Linked DNA regions of Homo sapiens: region 1 is linked to region 2. Evidence: promoter capture Hi-C in human tissues and cell types (Jung and others, 2019). All regions are on one chromosome and are shown on one strand. Each heading gives the region's core, a stretch centred on a gene start or on the middle of the fragment in contact. The rest is flanking DNA. Distances are from core to core; before and after follow the strand shown.

Region 1 (3,251 bases), core at 428-2,927, 190 kb after region 2:
GAGAGGCCTGCCATCTCCCAACAGTGAGGGTGATCCTGCCGGCCCTCCGCTGAGGATGGGAGCCTGCACAATGCCTTCCTCCTCCGGGATCCGGCTCTAGCTGGGACTGGAGTGTGGGCTCAGGGCTCTTCTGAGACGGGGATCAGGGCCTGGTCTGTGACGGGGATCGGGGCCTGGTCTGTGACGGGGATCGGGGCCTGGTCTGTGACGGGGATCGGGGTCTGGTCTGTGATGGGGATCGGGGTCCGGTCTGTGATGGGGATCGGGGCCTGGTCTGGATCAGGGTCCGGCCTGTGACGGGGATCAGGATCTGGCCTGTGACGGGGATCAGGGTCCGGCCTGTGACGGGGATCAGGACCTGGTCTGTGATGGGGATCAGGGCCTGGTCTGTGATGGGGATCAGGGTCCAGCCTGTGACGGGGATCAGGACCTGGTCTGAGACAGGAATCAGGGCCTGGTCTCTGATGGGGATCAAGGCCTGGTCTGAGACAGGGATCAGGGCCTGGTCTGTGATGGAAATCAGGGCCTGGTCTGTGACAGGGATCGGGGCCTAGTCTGAGGCAGAGATCAAGATCGATGGCCAGGGTCGGGGTCAGAGTTTGAGAGGAACAGGGCTCAATGTGTGGCTGTGGTCAGGAAGGGCTGGCTGAGCAGCAGTGAGCTCAGGGAGGCTGGAGGAGCTAGGAAGGAGAATGAGGCTCCAGAGAGGCCAGAGGAGTGGATTTGTCACTCGACCACAGCAGAACGTGGGCTGAGGAGGGGGAACTGCCAGGCCAGGTCACGGGTGAGCCTCGTCGCTGGGCCTCAGCTTCGTAGATGCTCACCCTGACCATCCAGTGAATTCTCACTGAGGGGAAGAAGAAACCACCTCCTTTGAAGGGCTGGGCACAGCAGAGTGCCCCGGCTCTGCGACCCTCTGGGCCTGGGCACGAGACCTCCTGACTCCGTCCCCCACAGAGCCCTCACTTCAGGACTTAGCAGCTCAGAACCCCAGACCCTTCCCAGAACCAGGGCTCCACTGTCGCTGCCTGGGTGGTGCCCGCCCCTCACGCTGTCACCCACGTCTGAGGCTGGAGGGATCAGGAGAAAAGGGGCACACAGCTCAGAGATCCCCCTGAGCTGACCACAGGCCCAAGACTTCATTTTTCACAAGGGGAAACTGAGGCTCGGGGCCTGCAACCAGTATGTCCCACATCCCAGAGCTGGTGAGTGGCTACCCTGCCCATGGCACACGAGGCTGGGCTGGGGTGTGCGTGTCCACGCCGCACCTCTGCCAGGAGCCTGCCCCACCCAGCGGTGAGGCCCCTGGCATGAGAAGAAGTCTGGGCTCCTGGCCCGCCCTCAGTGCCAGCGGCTGCCCTGCCTGTCTTGCACACGGCTTTAGGCAAGGGCCGAAGGCTGCCCTGGCCGCCCCCTTCTGGAAGGGCCACCCGGCAGGTGGCAGAGACACTGCCATAAAAGGGGCTGCCAGGGCGGGGCAGGCTCTGCCACCTGCGGGCTTCAGGACCTCACCTCTCCTCCTGCAGTCTGCTCATCGGTGAAATGGACGGAACAGCAGCCCCTGCCCGAGGTGTGGCGGTGAAGCAAGCAGTCCCATGTCGGAGGCTTAGAGCGGAGCCCAGCACACAAGGAAGGGCCTGCACGGGTGGCTAGGTCTGGTGAGGAATGAGGTCTCCATGCACCACGTGTGTTAGGAGAGGAGCATGTCCTTCTTGGTACAGTAGCATCTGCTCCAGAACCAGTTTCAGACGCTGGATTAGAGTCCATGGGATCAAGAAGGGAGCCTCGTGGCCAGTCTCTCCCATCCCCCCATTCTCTCCCATCCCCCCAGTCTCTCCCGTCCCTCCAGTCTCTCCCATCCCCTGAGTCTCTCCCATCCCCTGAGTCTCTCCTGTCCCCCCAGTCTCTCCCATTCCCCCAGTCTCTCCCATCCTCCCAGTCTCTCCGGTTCCCCAGTCTTTCCTGTCCCCCCAGTCTCTCCCATCCCCCAGTCTCTTCCGTCCCCCCTCCTGTCCTTCCAGGCTCTCCCATCCCCCCAGTCTCTCCCATCCCCCCATTCTCTTCCATCCCCCCAGTCTCTCCCATTCCCCAGTCTCTCCCATCCCCCCAGTCTCTTCCATCCCCCAGTCTCTCCCCTCCCCCAGTCTCTTCCATCCCCCAGTCTCTCCCATCCCCCCAGTCTCTCCTGTCCTTCCAGGCTCTCCCATCCCCCCAGTCTCTTCCATCCCCCCAGTCTCTTCCGTCCCCCAGTCTCTCCCATCCCCCCAGTCTCTTCCGTCCCCCAGTCTCTCCCATCCCCCCAGTCTCTCCCATCCCCCAGTCTCTCCTGTCCCTCCAGTCTCTCCGCTCTCCCAGTCTCTCCCATCCCCCAGTCTCTCCTGTCCCTCCAGACTCTCCGGTCTCCCAGTCTCACCCATCCCCCAGTCTCTCCTGTCCCTCCAGTCTCTCCGGTCTCCCAGTCTCTCCCATCCCCCAGTCTCTCCTGTCCCTCCAGTCTCTCCGGTCTCCCAGTCTCTCCCATCCCCCAGTCTCTCCCCTCCCCTCTCTCCTGTCCTGCCCCTCCCCCGACATATTGGCAGCCGTCCGTGAGGGGGTCCGGAGGCCAGTGGTGTCCTTTGGACCCTTGTGGAAAATCCCCCCAGGGTCAGAAGGGCCCAGAGGGAAGACAGGACTCTGTGGAAGAGGTTGCCTGCCCATGGAGAGAGTCCAGATGCATTGTGGGCCCTGTGGGTTGGCCCTAGTCTCCGCCACTGGGACCTCAAGCTGGCCAAGGCCATGGCCAGGCCCTGGCTCCTAGGAGGGGTGAAACTGATGGCTGGACATGTACGTGGACGACAGCCTCCAGGGAGGGCTGTTCAACCCCCGGCACTGGTATCATTCTCTGCCCCCTGGAGCTCCTGGGAAGATCCGTTAAGCAAGTGGTGGGGCTTCCACGGCACGGAATATTACGCAGCTGTCAAAAACGACGTGTAGGAAGAGTTTCCAGTAACGCAGGGAGATCCCGTGGTGAGAAAAGGCTGGTTCAAAAACAGAATCTATAGGATGTCCTTGGTGTGCAAAGAACGAGTGTGGCAGAAAATGTGGGAGAGCAGCTGCCAGGATCCATGGATGGACGGGGAAGGGGTCGCTGTGTTTCTTCAACTTTTCTATATTTTGCAGATTTGGGATGATGAGCGCGTCTGACTCTGATAACCAGGGAAAAGTGGAAAATGAAATGGAAGTGGCCAGCAGTCAACAATCCATCAGTTTCC
Region 2 (3,130 bases), core at 522-3,021:
TGACCTCATAATCCGCCCACCTCGGCCTCCCAAAGTGCTGGGATTACAAGTGTGAGTTACCGTGCCCGGCCCAGAGAAGTTTTTTAAAATACACACAACTAGACAAGCAACACCACCTGGCTCAAACAGCCTGGATGCCCACGGAGTTACCGGCGCTGGAGCTTAGTGATGCCCCGATGGTTGTTCAGACGGCAAAATCATGCAGACTGGGGCAGAAGAAAAGCAAGAAAGCAGCCAAAACATACCGGCCCTTGAACGCAGGAGGCTCAGCCCCCTCCTTGGTGTGAATCCTGAGGCCAGCACCTCCCAGTTATTCACAGCCAGTGCGTTCCAGAAGGGGGCTTGCCAAGCTTGCCTCTGACAGTTCCAGAACTCCACAGAACCATGCTCACAAAAGCAACTCGAAAGTACTGTATGCGAGCAGCTACTATGGTAAGAACTGAAGTTTATCCTTAGAGACCACACTCAGCTCAAGTGTAACGCACTCAACCTGTCAACACAGATACGTCGTAACTTATCACATGGAGTCGCCACTAGAAAATTGCAGCCTCCTTCAACCTAAATTCTGCCAAGCCCTCAGATCATGTCAGGTATAGACAGGAGGTCAGTCTGACACACAGACAGGCTTCTTAGCTGACCTTACTGAGTCCTTTAGAGACTCGAGAACTAGTTCCAAAAATCAGCAACCTAAGGAACTAAATACACAGGAGTATTTCAGGTGAATAAACTTTAAAAAGTGTCTCCGCGAGGAGACCCTACTCCTGGGACTTCTCTCTTGACCAATTTTACCTCTGCAGAAAAGCAGGGGCGCAGGGCCTTGTCCCGCAGCGGCACTATTTCAGGGACTCCAGCTAAAAGGCACAGTGGCCTGGGGCCAGCCAGGAAAAGAGCTCCAAGCAGCCGGCTCTGCGGGAAAGGGGAAGAGGAAGGAGAAGGGGCCTCTTCATGAAGGAGCCTACGTTAATTCTCAGCTCTCAAAGATGCTGCTGAAAAAAAACCTCACCCCAACAGCAAAAAGGTACAACTGCCGGAAAGTCCCGAGGCCCTGCTCCGTCGGCGACTTCACTCTCCAGGCCTCAGTTTCCCGATCTGCCCCTACCTCCCTGCGTGGCTGCAGAGTTAACTGAGAGGCTGGCGTGTACAGGGCTCGGCCGGGCGGCTGGCACGGGGCGAGCGCTTAGTGACCGGAGTCCGCCGGCCGAAAGGCCAGGCCCGGGACGAGCGTCCAGAGGTGTGGGATCCGAAAGGGGGAGAGTCGGGCAAACGGGCAGGAGGCGCTGCCTCCACCCCCGGAGGAGAGGGCCTGGGAGCTGCGGACTGGGCGGCGGACCCCAGGTCGGGGCGGTTCGGGGACTGAGGCGGGGTCCGCAGTCGGAGGGGTCCGGAGCGGGTGTTGGGGGCAGGGGAGGGGGCCCGGCCTTACGTGCTTGAGGCAGCGCTCCTTGAGCTTCTCCACCGAGGTGTCCTCGGTGGCCTCCTCCAGCCACTCGGCGCCGTCGGACGCGCAGATGTGCAGCCGCAGCACCTTGCCCGCGAAGATCTTCTCCTCCTGCACGAACATCCCGCCGCCGCCGCAGGGGCCTGCGCCCGCCACCCGGGCCCCTGAAGGTCACCGGGAAGGCGGGCGGGGAGGGGGCGGGGCCAGACCGCCCGCGCGCTCCTTCGCTGGGCCGCCGCCCCGCCCCGGCTCCCGTCGGCCGGGCCGCCGTCACTCTCCGCGGCCTCAGCGGTCGCCTCGCTCCCGCCGCCGCAGCAGCCGCCGGGGGCGCGCCGTCGCGGCCGCACCGGAAGTGCGTCACGGGCGCGTCTGGCGCATGCCGGGAGATGTGGTTCTCGGACAGGCGCCTCGCTCCCGCCGCCGGGGGCGCGCTGTGGCCACCGCAAAGGAAGTGCGTCACGGGGCGCGCCCGGAGCATGCCGGGAGCTGTAGTTCTCTGGTAGCTTCGTTCCTCCCCGAGCTGCAGGCGGTTCCCACCCGGGGCACTCACCACGTGGGACCTCATGGGTTCTAAAGGTAAAATACACGCTGGATCCCAAAGAAGTAACGGGAAAAAGGAATGTAAGGCATCTCGATAATGTTTTCATATTGATTACATGTTGAAATAATATTTTGTATCTATTGAGTTAAGAAAAATATGTCATTAAAATTAATTTCACCTGTTTCTTTTAACCTTTTTAAGATAGAATTTTAAATTGCCTACATGGCTGCTGTGATATTTCTTTTGCACTGCACTGCTGTAGAACGGAGGCTCTCCAAAGAACTTGGCTTTAACAAGCCTAGGTCTTTCTAATTCACACGCAGATCAGAGAGTCACTGTTCCTGCGAAGCCTAGGTTTGCGGGGCACCCAGAGGGGAGGGAAGCCGCCCTTGGTGCAGGTGATGCCAGGCAGACTCATTTTCTGTGGGGTGTGACAAAGAGTCTTTGCTTGGCCAAACTTAAGCAGGCTCCTGAACCTTCTACATCATCTGTACACTTCCTTGTAAAATCCAGTTTTAGCGAAGAGCCTTGATAAGTGAGTTTAGCAAGAACTCCCAGCCTCAATATCAGATCACCCTGGACGTCTGGTCAGGTTCCTCGTCCCCCAGGTGCTGTCTGATATCTCCAGCCTCTCTTCAGCAAGAACCCTGTCAGGTCGGTTTAGCCAGAACCGCCCACATCCCTGATGTTTTCTCCTATTAATTTTCCATTCACTGACCCCACCCACTTGCCCTTGCTGTATTGGGAGTTGAGCCTGACCTCTCTCCCCACTGCAAGCCCCCTTGGCAGTGGTCTCTGTACCTAGCTCAACAGTCCTGGATAACGTCTTACTTACCATGCTCCTAAATATGAATTTTGTAGTTCAGGTTAGACCTGACACATTGACTGATCTGTACTCATTCATCCCATTCATTTAAAAAAACTTTACTGCGCAGAGATGAATAAGGCACAGTTCCCGTTCTCAGAGGTTAGCAATCTAACCGGGGAGGCTGTCTCTGCCTCCTGCCTGCAGGCTTTTATTCTGTCCACACCATTTTGCACACACATCCTCATTTTTCTCCTGTGATAATTCCAACCTCGTCCAGATTCCATGTGTCCAGTTCAGCACTTACTAATTGCCTCTCACAGGTGGGAGCCTCTGCTACTCAATG

What was found. Contacts are between HindIII fragments. The study calls those that stand out against the background at their distance.
Region 1: a fragment that was not itself captured here is called in contact with the fragment with the promoter of UBAC1 in region 2 in 2 of the 25 tissues and cell types used here (dorsolateral prefrontal cortex and lymphoblastoid cells).

What each region holds. Positions count from the first base shown.
Region 1 is chr9:136,152,181-136,155,431 of GRCh38, forward strand. No RefSeq gene overlaps it. Among named protein-coding and RNA genes, the nearest start is that of TMEM250, 35 kb to the left of the region's middle. RefSeq lists an enhancer at 203-771. The HindIII fragment of the contact is 8,476 bases long and covers 1-3,251 here.
Region 2 is chr9:135,959,602-135,962,731 of GRCh38, forward strand. UBAC1 (UBA domain containing 1) reads right to left here and starts at 1,772. Exons shown (of 10, transcript NM_016172.3): 1 at 1,424-1,772. The coding sequence starts at 1,561. RefSeq lists silencers at 1,382-1,501, 1,512-1,921 and an enhancer at 1,392-1,892. The HindIII fragment of the contact is 18,279 bases long and covers 1-3,130 here.